2 separate regions of the Homo sapiens genome follow, and region 2 is linked to region 1. The links are contacts of gene promoters, found by promoter capture Hi-C in blood cells and fetal thymus (Javierre and others, 2016). All regions are on one chromosome and are shown on one strand. Each heading gives the region's core, a stretch centred on a gene start or on the middle of the fragment in contact. The rest is flanking DNA. Distances are from core to core; before and after follow the strand shown. Region 1 holds the start of FOXC2 (forkhead box C2). Region 2 has its middle 110 kb from the start of LINC02181.

Region 1 (6,299 bases), core at 2,495-4,994:
GCCAGCAGGGGAGTGGTGGACTTCAGCCATTGAAATAGATAATAAAGCCATTTCGTCAGCTACATTTCACAAAAACTATGTTACTATTAAAAATGTAAAAGACGAGATATTAACATTGAAAACAAAAAATAATCTCTATTATTTAACATATTGAAAAACTTGAATTTAGAACTCTAAAAATATCATAAATTATTTTTGAAGGGTAATGAGGTTTTAAAATTTTTCACTGCGATGAGGGTGTAGATTTAGACATGACATTGAGAAGTAATAAAGTCTGAAATTCCCCTCTGATCTGGCCGCTAAGGGGGATGGATATCAAACGCTAGAAAATCCGTCCCCTTCAGACCTTCATTGGCCCAGTTCAAATTCTCTGGAAAACTATTAAAGCAGGCAAAGAGGCTCAAATTTTATAAAATCGGGGGAAAGCAGGACTCACCCTGGGTTGCAGTTAGCAAACGGGAAATGTTTATTCTTCCCTTCCTTCACCTCCTAAACTGGGGACGGCTGGACACTGAGATGGAGTGGCACTGTTTGTTTTGACAATTAGCATGTTTTTGTGCATTTAAGAAAATGCATCACGGCAAACTCATGGTCCGGTCCTTCAGGCAGCCCCCTCCAACTGGGCGGTTTCTCGAAAAGAAAAAATCCTAGAGTGGGATTTTAAAATTAATCAAAAGCCTTTTTCTGTCACTAAACAAGACAGCAGGTGTGTGCTCCTATTCTCTGGTCGTTTTTATGTGTCTACACATATACCCACCTGTGTAACAAAAATAATCAAAGCAGGTGGGTTTGCAAACACACCTCGTTTGTAAAAAATGCAACAACACAAACACACTGTCCAAACTTTGGGCAGAAAAAACAACATGGGTTTATTTTAAGGTAAGTACAACGATTAAGACCACGTAAGACAAACACAGATGAAGTTAGAGTTTTTAAGCTTTTTTTTTTTTTTTCTTTTAGGAATACTCAGGGTGGAACCTACTATACAAAACCATCACACTTTGTAAATAAAAAGTATCAGATACTTGACTTCTTTATCCACCAACAAAAAAATAAATTATTTTCTTGTTTTGTAAAAGACCTACAATGGGAAAAAGAATTATATCTCATAATTGTACAGGAAACAAAACCCACATCGGTTTCTTGAATTCAATTTGGCAGTTAGAAATGGTTGGGCAAGATGAAAAACTTATCCAGTGAACTCAACTTTAAATATTATATTAATGGCTCTGAACAACAACAACAACAACAAAATAGCCTGATTACAAATCCACACATTTGTACAGCACGGTTGGAGAAATTTAAAATTACACACAGCACATATATTATCTATAGAGACCCCCATACACCTATGGGGACCCCTACAGAAAGTCACTAGGGGCTCGCTATGGGATTTGGTCCATAACTTAACTTTTGAAAGCTCAGGTCGAGCACAGCACAGCCGTCCTGGTAGGGGAGGGGGATTTTAAGATCAATACTCATTTTGTTGGGCTGCGTCCCTTTGGAGGGGTTTCCTGGGATCCCAGAAACGGGGCGGCGAATTAAAGTTACCTGCGCTCTTCACAGACGGCTGGGGGCTAGCGTGCCCGCTCTCTGCTCCCGGGTCTGAGAAAAGGTTGGTGGACATGTTTTGTTTCTTTTTTGCGTCTCTGCAGCCCCTTAATTGTCTGGTTGGGTCGGGGCTGGGAAGCGAAGCCGGAGCGGGCCGGGGAGGGGAGGTCCCGGGACACGTCAGTATTTCGTGCAGTCGTAGGAGTAGGGGGCTGCGTGGCGATAGAGAGGCGGCGTGGATCTGTAGGGCAGCTGGCAGCTGGCATTGCCACTCACCTGGGACTCCCCGAGGGTCGAGTTCTCAATCCCCAGCCGGTGGGAGTTGAACATCTCCCGCACGTTGGGGAAAGTTTGCTGCTGGGCCGCGAACGTGTGGCCGGGGAGGTGGTTCAGGTCCCCGCTGTGGTTGAGATACCAGGAGGCCGCCTGCGCCGCGGCGGCCCCGGGCTGCGGCGTCGGCTGGGGCTGGGGAGCCGGCGGGGGCGGCGGCGCCTGCGGGTGGTGGTGGCCGTGGTGCTGGTGGTGGTGGCCCGTGGCGGCGAGCGCGCCCTCCTGGCCGGCGGCGAGGTTGAGAGCGCTCAGGGGCGACGTGGGGCCGCTCGGGTGGTCCGAGAGGGCCTCGTCCAGGGCGGGCGGGACGCACATGTGCGCCGGCCGCTCGGCCCCGGTGTACAGGCTCATCGCTCGCATGCTGCACTGGTAGCCCCCGGCGGCCCCGGCCTCCAGGCCCTGAGCGCACGGCTGGCCGTAGGCGGCGGGCGGCGCGGCGGCGTAGGGCAGCGCCAGCGGCGGCACCACCAGGCCCGCGCGTCCGGCCCCCGGGCTCAGCTCTCCGCCCGGCGGCGACGTTCGCAGGGTCATGATGTTCTCCACGCTGAAGCCAGGCAGCCCGTTGGGCGCCGCGGCGTGGTGCTCCGGCAGCGAGCCGTCGGGGGAGCCGGCGGGCGTGGAGGCCGCGCTGCGCGGGCTGCCCTGCAGCGCGCTCTCGGGGCTCAGCGTCTCCACCTTGGTGATGACCGGCAGCGCCGGGGACGCCGCCTCGCTCTTGATCACCACCTTCTTCTCGGCCTCCTTGGGGGCGTCCGCTAGGTGGGGGGTGGCCGGGGCGCCCTTGGACGCCGCCGGGGGCGGCTCCTTGAGGTGGGCCCGCTCCTCCTTCTCCTTGGACACGTCCTTCTTTTTGAAGCGCCGCCGGCGCCGCAGGAAGCTGCCGTTCTCGAACATGTTGTAGGAGTCCGGGTCCAGGGTCCAGTAACTGCCCTTGCCGGGCTTCTTGTCGTCGCGGGGCACCTTGACGAAGCACTCGTTGAGCGAGAGGTTGTGGCGGATGCTGTTCTGCCAGCCCTGCTTGTTCTCCCGGTAGAAGGGGAAGCGGTCCATGATGAACTGGTAGATGCCGTTCAAGGTGATCTTCTTCTCGGGCGCGTTCTGGATGGCCATGGTGATGAGCGCGATGTAGCTGTAGGGCGGCTTCACCAGGTCCTTAGGCGCCGCGGGCTGGTGGTGGTGGTAGGGCGCGTAGGAGCGGCCCATCCCCGCGCTGTACTGCTCCGGGTGGCCGGAATAGACGCCCATGGGGCTGGCCATGCCGCCGTAGCTGCCCGCAGCCCGGTAGTAATTCTGCTCGCTCAGGTAGGGCACCACTCCCAGGGCGTTGGGGTCGGACACGGAGTAGCGCGCCTGCATGCTGCTTCCGAGACGGCTCGCCGGCGCCCTCGCGCACGGACTGCGGCCGGGGGAGCGAGGGGGGCCCTGAGAGCGAGAGAGCGCGAGAGAGCCAGAGGGGGAGAGGAGGGGAGCGGGAGGGGCGGCCCCGGGCTCCTGGCAGCCTCCGGGGCGAGGGTGCGCGGGCGGCGGCGCTCGGGCCGAGCAGGGGCGCGCGCTTTCAGCGGACCGGGCGGATCGGCATCCTGGAGGGCGCGCCCCGGGCAAGCGCAGCGCCGGCCCCGCTCCTCGCTGGCTCCAGGACCCGGCGGCGGCAGCGCGGGCAGGCGGGCGGCCGCGGACCCAGCGGAGACGCCGCGGCCTGGGGACCCAGGTGGACCCTCGGCCCGCGCGAGGAGGGGCGCAGGAGGCTCTCCAAGCCCCCAGCGAATCGGCAGCCCCGAGGGTCAGCGCGCCGGGGTCCGAGCGGCTGCCCCGCTGAGCCCAGAAAAAGAGGCCAAGTCCCTTTTAGGGATTGGGAAAAGTTTCAAAAGTCTTCTTGCTGAAAGCGAGTTTTTACTTTCCTCGGGCCACGCCCCCTCCCGGAACTTTGAGCCAATCACCCGGCAGCTGAGAGGAGTCGGCGCCAATCGGGGCGAGGAGCGCAGGAATCCGTCGGCTCTAAGACCCCGCCGCCCCGGCCTCCGCGGCGACTCCGTCTTCACTTGAAAACTTTTTAAAAAGTTATATCTTATTAAAATTTATTTTATGATCACATTTTGGTGAATGGGCCCACATGCCCAAAACAAAAAGATAGCCACTTTCCTCTGTTAAAAAAAATCAATTTGAAATATAAAATAGAATGGATTAATAGAGTAAAATATCTCTCCCAAAGACCTTGTAAGTAGCAATGATCCTGGGACATTTTTCTTATTAATGAGTGATGAAGCGAATAATTAGATTTCCTAATTATGGGGGCCCAGGTGTAATGGATTCAAAGCAAACGCGCTGGATTGGAATGGCAGGGCCTCTCCTGGATGTTATACTTATTTAATCAAATAATTAATCATCAACAGGGAGTTTCCAGGCTCGGGGTCGTCAAGGATAACCTATCGAGGTTTTAGAGGTAAACCCTACAAACTGAGTTTCCCTCGCTCCCCGCCGAGGAGCCAGGCAGCGGAGTGCATAGAGGGGAAGGTAGCAACGTGCTGACTGACAACTTAATCCTCCGAATTCGCGGGGAATTCGGTAGATCATCCGCGTCGCTGCGAGCAGTTTTGTGGGGTTTGGGGAAAAGGGTGAAGTGACTCTGCTATTTCCCCCTTTCGTCTCCCGCGTGGACACTCGCAGCCTACCAACTTCAGCTTCGAAACTCGTCTCCCTTTTCCCAGGTAGAAATTCCCTCTAACAAGCTGACCCCGCACTCCCAGAAGACCGGGACAATGCAGCGACCCACCCGGGCCAGGCAGAGCCGAGTTCCTGGGCCCTGCGAGGAGAAACCCGAGCCTGTTTTCCGCGGGGGCTTGGCTCGAAGGCGCGCGCAATGAGCGCCGCGCACCGCGGGCACCAAGCGTGGACGTTTCCCGTGGCCCAGGCCGGCGCCGGCCGCTAACACCGACCCTAGGGCGCTGTCCCTGCCTCCTGCTCCTGGCAACGTCCCCCTGGGAGCCTCCAAGTTGCTTTTCTATATTTCAGCCTTTTTTTTGTTTTGTTGGGTGGGTAGGGTGAGTTAGGGAGCGCGCTCCGTGGGAAGACTGGGTGAGCGGTTGATTGCAAACGGTTCAAGATCCCTTCGGGATGATATTATTCGGCAGGCAGACCTGGAGCGACTTGGATCTCCTTCAAGGATTTCTCCTTCCCTCTAGGAATCCCGGACAGTTTGTTTATTTGTGGACTGATTATTTATTCCTTCCACACCTCAATAATCAGATCCCCTTTTCCCACTTTCCCTGAAGGAGTGAGACACCCCTTTAACAAGGCTAAACACGGGCAGAATTTTGGAAGTTGCTGGTCTGGTTGGGCAGGGAAGAGGGCTTCAGGGAGAACATTTGTATTTCAGGTTTCCTTGCACCCTTCCTGGCTGTTCATCGGCTGCGTATTCGATTCTCAGCAAAAGGATGTTGAGACAACCCACCAGGCCTCTTCGCTTCGGCCTCTTCGCTTCGGGGAGGCGACTAGAAGGCAATGGGGCGTGCCACTTATTTCCAATAAAAGAACAGAAGACGAAAATGTAGATGCATTATCTTTGTCTCCTGATCAATTCAAAGCCAAAGGGAAGCTACAAATCAGGTTCCTTTACCTTGAATATTCCACTTCTGAAACATTGTTTTTATGAGTATTCTGGGCTCTTTTTCTAACCTGATCCTTTTTCTTCTTTCTTTGAAACAAAGTAAAATAAAGCTGCCCAGTTCTCAGCTCACAGGCAAATGATTTGAGCTTTCTGCCCCAACCCTAAACTCCCACCATGACTTTATTATTTTTAATAAGCTAGTATTTCCGCATCTAGCTTAAAAAAAAAAAAGGACTAGCAAAAAGTGCCCTTCTCCTGCAGCGCATGACAGGCACACTGAGTTCGTGTCACGATTTTACTGGAAATGCAAACTATTGATCAAGAAACACTCCTCAGCCTGTAGGCTTCCTGGAGGAATATTATTTACTCTGCTTTTACGAGGGGTGTGTGTGTGTGTGTGAGAGAGAGAGAGAGAGAGAAACAGCTTTATCACAGCAAAACCTAAAATAGCTAAGGACTATGAAAAAATAAATTCCAAAATGGCAGTTGCTGCCTACGTTTGTATTCACAAGGGTGTCCCGGTTTAAACCAATGTCATCTGGGGAAACAAACAAACAAACAAACAAACACCTAAATCGAGTCGCCCAATATATTATCCACCCTCCCCCGCCCCAAAGAAAGGAAAAGGGGAGGGGAAAGAAATTCGTCTCATCAAGACAGAAAAGGTGAGAGAGACACTTCCCTTTACCCCTGGAATTAGGTTTCTTGTTTGCTCAGTGGGACTCCGGGAAAGATGTTTGTTCAGGTTATTAAAACAACGCCTTCCATACACCTGGACTTTGCAAAAACCGTATTTCCCAGCTTTTCTTTAACC
Region 2 (6,601 bases), core at 893-3,392, 380 kb before region 1:
AGACACAATTAGAAGTGCTTCAGAGCGAGTGGAAAGTTCTCAGGAAACGTATTATCATTAGAGCTGGCTGCTTGCTTCCCTGGACGGGGAGAGGGCATGCATGTGCGTCTATGGTGGATGCACTCACTGTGCGACGTCCTATATGAAATCCTTCTCCTCACAAAAAAGTGAAAAAATGGGCTTGCTTTCTTGCGTGAACTTTTCTTCCTGCTGTGTTTCTAAGAGTATCAGAGAGGCTGTTGACTCAAAGGGCAGGAGCTAGGCGTACCTGGTTAAAGAAGGTCTCTGATTGCCTTGTAGATTCAGAAACTTCCCTTAGCCCCTCATGCCTCAGTTTCCCCATCTCCAAGTGGTTTGAGAACAGAGAGGAGGGAATTGCTTAGAGGACCTCCAAGGTCCTCTCTGGGTCCTGGGATTCTTTCTTTTGGCAAAGAAAAGTCAGAGAGGCAGTGTGATGTCACTGCTGAACGCGGGGCCTCCGCAGCAGCCTGAGGGCTCTCCATGCCAGCTTTGCTCCCTCTGCACTGTCCTGACCTTTGGAAAGTGTCTCCCCCATGGCTGTCAGTTTCCCCATCTGTAAAATGGAGATGAAAATGGAAATAACTGTCTTTGGGTTCCATCCTTTGAGGTAAACCTTTTGGGAGATTGAGTCAGCACACACGCAATGTGCGTGAAACTACCCAGCACTGAGAGAGCTTGTCCATCTCATGTGTTTCTGGAGAAGGTGGCGTCTTCCCTCCACACCTCTTCCTCCAGGTGATAGCACTGAATGGTCAGTCCTAGGGGGCTCAAAGAGAGGATTCCATTGGGAACTGATGGAAATTTCCTAGTCCAGCCTCCTTCTTTCACCTGCATATGCTCACCGCCCTCCAATGCTGGTCCCGGAATTTAGCTCAGAAAATAACGCATGCACACAGGTGATAGAGATGTCTGGGTACGTAGGTACACCTGGGTGCACATGCGGAAACTCCTAGAAGGACTGGCGTCATGAAGATGTGTGGCGTTGGTGGGGGCGGAGGTGCTCAGGGCAGAGCCTTTCCTGGCAGGATTTGTCCGTGGAAGCTCGGGGAGTGGGAGCAGGAGCAGGAGCAGGAGCAGGAGCAGAGTGGCTGAGTGGGCTCAATTCCTGTGAAGGGCAGGAGCTTCAGAGCTCCTGGGCTTCCCTGTATCATTCCTGGCGTGGCCACAAGGACCTTATCTAGTGGCAGGGCAGAGGCAACAGCGGCACTAATAGCAGTAGCTGTCACAGCAGCGTGTCATGGTGTTGGACACGTAGTCTAAGTTTTTAAAATACATAATATGTTTCACACAGAAGCTTATTTTCGTAACACGATATGGCATGGCAGGTACTAGTATCTTCAGGGTACAGATGAGGAAACTGAGACACACAGAGCGCAGCAACTCATCACAGTTGCAGGGTGAGAAGGTGGGTGAAGGGGCTGTGGCTTCGCAGCCATCTCTGCCATCTGAGCCCTACGCACTGACCTTTGTGCAGGTGGGGACGCCCGTGGCTTGATGTGTCTCTGGGTGTGCAAGTGTACGATGAGGGTCCTGGCTCGGGACGCTCAGTATGGGTTAGCAGCGGGCAGCAGGTTTCTCAGCCTGCCTCTGTCACTCGGGAGTTGGTTCTGTGAGCTAGTTCTCCCCCTGTGCCTCAGTTTCCCCATATGAGGATAACAAGACCCTCTCCTAGGGCAGCTGTGAGGAGATGAGAGAAACCTGTGGCCGGGTAGCTCAGTGCCTGGCTCGTTGAAGGGGTCCATAAGTGGCAGGCAGAGGACGGGTTGGGCCTGGTGGACCCCAGAGCTCCTCCCATAGCTGGGACTTGCCACTCCGTAAACTCGTCAACAGGTTGTCTTCAAAGAAAATGTTCAAGGGAAAGTGTTCACCCTTCACCATCCTCTTGAGGACAAAGACAGTGGTTCTGAGCATGGCCCTTGGAGCACCCGTTAGCCACACTGGCCAGCAGAGCAGTTCTGGGAGGCCAGAGGGTGTTGGATGGCGAGGTCTGCGGAGTGACCGAGTGACCACGCAGAGAATCCCCTGGCCCCTTCCCTCATCCTGAGGTGGCCAAGGACACCAGGAGGAGGGAACATGGGGCTGGTTTGGACCAACAGGTGGAGCGGGAGGGTGCACACACCGTCAGCAGCATCAGCATGTTGGGGGACGCGGCAGGAGAAGCCAGGAGCCTAGCTGCTCACAGCAGGATGGAGATGATGAGGCCTGGAGGGGGTCTGCAGAGCTTTCCCAGGCACGGCAGTTGAGCTGGGCTGCAGACCCCCACCTGATGGTGTGGGGGAGAGGGGGTGAGATTCCAAAAACTACTGGATGCTATGTTTATCACCTGGGTGGGGAAACAGTCTGCACACCAAACCCCTGCGACAGGCAATTTACCTGTATAACAAACCTGCTCGTGTACCCCTGAGCCTAAAATAAAAGCTAAAAAAAAATCCCCCCTTGGAGCAGAAAAGGGAGAGAGACAGGGAAGCGGCTGAAGGCAGCAGCCTGTCTGGGGAGGTGGGGGTCAGGCGAGGGAGGAGTTTGCTTCCCCAACCTGAGCAGTTTAACCTGCAGCCCTTACTCACCCGAGGGTACCTGCTGGGGCCCAATGCCTCCAGGGGTGTTTGTTCTGACTGCCCAGGCCCCAGCCAGGCTGGCCGTGAATATTTTCAGTGTCATCTGATCTTTCCATCTCCTTGGCTGTCCTGTATAGAGGACCAAAGGACTTTATTTCAGGACATTCCCATCATTCCTGCAGGGTGACACATACACGATAACCATATCTGTATGCACGGTGGTGGGGTAAGCAGAGGATTTGGGGGCGTCCCTGTTTCCTTTCTGTAAAATAATTACAGGAAAATAGGATGCTAATTCTATTTTCATTTACATGAAATAAATAATAAATGACTTTATATTTGAATAGGCAGTGCCCAAATGAATCATTTCAAAAATGTTAATGAGAAGCTTTAGCGTACTTCTGTGAATGTAACTTTCTTTTTCATAACAGTCTTATTGAGGTGTAATTAATCTACCGTAGAATTCAGCCATGGAAAGTTTCCAGTTCAGTGATTTTAGTGTCCTCACAGATTTATGCAACTATCACAATAATCAATTTTAGAACATTTTCATCATCGCCCCCGAAAAACCATGCTTGTTAGAAGTCACTCCTTTTACCCACCACCTCCCCAAACATAGCTTTCTTAAAGGAAGTCAGGTTTTATGCTGGAAATAGCTATGTGCAATTCTTGGCTGACATGTGAACGTCCCTCTTCAAAATCTTGAAGTCACTATCGATGTGAAACTTTGGTTGCACAGGTATGTGATAAAAAGATCTAGGAAAAATTTCAGAAAGTATTTAAAAATTTGGAAGAGTTTAAGTGACTATGGAAAGAAAGAATCCCATAGGTCGTTCTTTTCTTGGCTGAATACAATGCTGACGTTTACTGTGATAATGAGGGTATGCCCTAAACTCGGCTGGACTTGTTTGATTGGGTATTTCACAGTGCTGGTGCTGCTGGAAGCTGCGGAACACACACGCATGGTTAGAACAGCTCTCGGCCCGTGGCCACCCAAAGGGTGCACCTGCAGGGAAACTGAGGCCTTCCTCTGGACTCCGTGCTTCCTCAAGGTCTCTCCTGAAAGGTCTGCATCCTGCCATGTGCTGACGGGGCTGGCGCCGTCCGTCCTTGCCCTGAGCCCTGCCGTGTTGGCGTGGTTGAGGGGTCTGCTGCCACGCTGCCTCTCCCAAGGAGGCTTGGGCAACCCAGTGAGGAGGAAACCTTGAATAAACTTCAGGAAGAGCAAATCCATTCTCCCACTTTCCCAGAACCCAAAGGGCTTCCACACTTTAGGGATGTGTTGTTTTTGAACCTGAGCCCATCATGGCCCTGGACATTGATCAAAGAGAGTGGCTTGTTTTTCCTAAAAGTGTGCGGATGGGTCCGATCAGCAGAATTTCAGGTGCAGTGACTCAGCTTTTCCTCTGCGGCTACCACCTACCCGACATGGCCCCCATGGGGTGGCATCCAGACCCTTTCCTCGGGCTTGCTTTTCTGGAAGCCCCCACACCGCGGTTAGGGTCTGGGATTTGGAATCAGACAGATAAATGGGTTTCAAGGTCTCTCTTTCCAGCTGCTCAGAATGACCACCGGCAAACTCCTTCACTTCCCTGAATCTCAGTTTCTCCTATTTAAAATGGTGATAAGACTGGTGGGCAATAGATACTGCCTCTTGGGAGGGTTAAGGTAAAATCAGAACAGGAGATGACTGCAAAGTCCCTGGCAGTGTTCCTGGCACAGACAAAAACATTTGTGGCAAACCTGGAGTGGCCAGATTCCCCCTCAGCCTCCCCAGAGGCCAGAAACTTTGGTGGATCATTCCTGAGCCCACTCATAGCTTCCTTCTTTCAGCACTTGCCTCCCTCCACCAGAGAACTTTCTAGGCTGAAAGAGCATCCTTGGGCTGTGCAGGGAATCAATGTCCTCAGAGCAGCCCCCCGAGGAGGGATGGAGTAGATGGGAAACACCCCTGCGTGTGTTTCTTGGGAAGATAATTCTGAGGCATCTTCCACAGGCCTCTATAAAGGGTCCCAACAGACCAGAGTCCAGTCACCCTGCTACCACCCATTCATGGTTGGCTTTCTCACCTCTGGGCCTCATTTCCCCATTCCCCTCCTGGTACTTTCTAAATTTACCTCCAAAGTAATTCACTTGGGCCCAGGTCCCTAAATCCCTTGTCTGTAGGTTTGCTTTGGGGGACACCCAGCCAAAACAAGAGTCGGTAAATATGGGCTATTATTATTATTATCACTCAAAAGGCTGGATGCAGAATGAGAATAAATTCATGGTCAAATTTTGTCCTATGGATTTCATTTCATTTTATGGGCAGGTGAGAGGTCATATCTAGATGATATCAGAGAGCCAATTTGGAAACACTCAGTTGGTTATCATGGGATTTTATTGAGCAGCAATTAGATTCCCAGTGCTGGGTGAGGGGTGTGGACCTGGGCCATGGGCACCCATGGCCCTACACTCTAGAAGGGCAGAGTCTATGGAGCAGAAGCGGTGTTCAAGTGAGTTCAAGATCAAGCACATGTCCCCCAGTCTAGGTACGAGGAATGGCCTGGCGGTAACCAGGGAGATATAACCCAAGAGGTGGCGTTTGCTCTGGACCCTGAAGAGTAAGTGTTGCACAAGGAAAATGTTGGGACGGCATCCATGGGAGGCGAAGAAGAGTGTGTGCAAAAAGTTCAGGGCATGAGAGGACCTGGCAGGGAGAGACAGGGGTGACCAAGAAAATGTAGGTTGAGGCTGGGCATGACGGGCAAAGTGACTTAACTTCTCTGAGCCTCATTTTCTTCATCTGTGAAATAGGATCATAATAGCATCTACTGAGATAATGCTGGATTGTCGTAGTGGCTCAATAAAGGTTTCCTGCTTCCATTGCCATTAGGGTCAAGTGCAAGGACTTCAGAGAGGACTTAAGAATCTGCACTTTTTCCCGGCATGCTGAGAGTTGTGGGGCTGGAGGCAGCACCGTCATAATTGAGTTTTAGCATCAGAGGTCTGGAAGGCTAGATGTCATAGTGTTACCTTGACTTTCTCCTCTTTCTGTAAGGAGAATGCATCACTTCTATAATAAGAATATATGTTTAAAAGCCAGAAGAGCACAGTGAGTTGGGAGCTTCTGGAAGCTGGACAGACTGGGTAGGCCAGAGTAGGAGGGTGGGTCAGCCTCCAGCTTTTGGGCTGAAGCGTTCCTGGGAGAATCTGATAAAGCTAATGGGAATTCCTCGCAGAAAGCTGACTTCCGTGTGGAATTCCACACCCAACCCAAGTGGACTCATGCAGCCACTAAAAGGCAGATGTGGACCCAGGGTAGGGTCCCCTCAACTTTGAAGAATCAACAATTCAGGCCAGAGAATTTGAGAACTTCCCACATGAATGCTTGTTTGCCTTGATGTTGCCATTTCCTCATAAGACAGCACATGTGAGATGACATCTTTCTTTCTCATGAGAACGTTTGTTGGGGCCTGCAGAGGCTGGGTGAGGAGGCTCCCAGTCTCCAGGTAGATATGGGCAAGACCTTCATTCCTAGTGAACTGAATGTTCTGTCTGAACTCAGTGCCTCCATGCACAGATCTAGATTCAGAAAGTGCTTAGATCCATGCAGCATTGGTGTGGAATTAGTTGTTTGCCAGGATTGGCAGTGAGGGCCAACTACTCTTCCCAAAGCAGGAGTGGGCCTGCTGCAGCTGGAGGGTCTGTCCTGCTCCCTGGGCTGCTGGCCTCCCTCACAAGGCTGTGGACTGGCCTCACTTCAATGACATGGATTGTCTCGTGCATGAGTGCACATCGGATTTCCAAGTCTGCTATTGATTTTCAAACTGCAGACAAAAATGCATTCATTCCCCGGGCCTCGCCATAGTCTTCCATTATCCACTTAGCGTCACGTTACAAAAATAGCTTTAAACAGTTTTGCTTGAAATATTGGACACATACACTCACTGACAGCGAGGTTTTGTTTGGTTGTATGACTCAGCTTCAGGGCATAACTTTTCACACGAAGAGCGTACACACCCGTCACTTTGACACAAGCGGAG

What was found. Contacts are between HindIII fragments. The CHiCAGO score rates a contact against its expected background, and 5 or more counts as called.
Region 2: a contact is called between a fragment that was not itself captured here and the fragment with the promoter of FOXC2 in region 1, in 1 of 17 cell types (endothelial precursors). The highest score is 6.2, in endothelial precursors.

What each region holds. Positions count from the first base shown.
Region 1 is chr16:86,564,274-86,570,572 of GRCh38, reverse strand. It overlaps FOXC2 (forkhead box C2), which reads right to left and starts at 3,744. Exons shown (of 1, transcript NM_005251.3): 1 at 845-3,744. The coding sequence starts at 3,237. The coding sequence ends at 1,732. FOXC2-AS1 (FOXC2 antisense RNA 1) reads left to right here and starts at 2,812. Exons shown (of 2, transcript NR_125795.1): 1 at 2,812-2,956; 2 at 5,255-5,428. RefSeq lists enhancers at 1-232, 2,441-3,024, 3,025-3,609. The HindIII fragment of the contact is 11,287 bases long and covers 940-6,299 here.
Region 2 is chr16:86,942,678-86,949,278 of GRCh38, reverse strand. No RefSeq gene overlaps it. Among named protein-coding and RNA genes, the nearest start is that of LINC02181, 110 kb to the left of the region's middle. The HindIII fragment of the contact is 1,649 bases long and covers 1,318-2,966 here.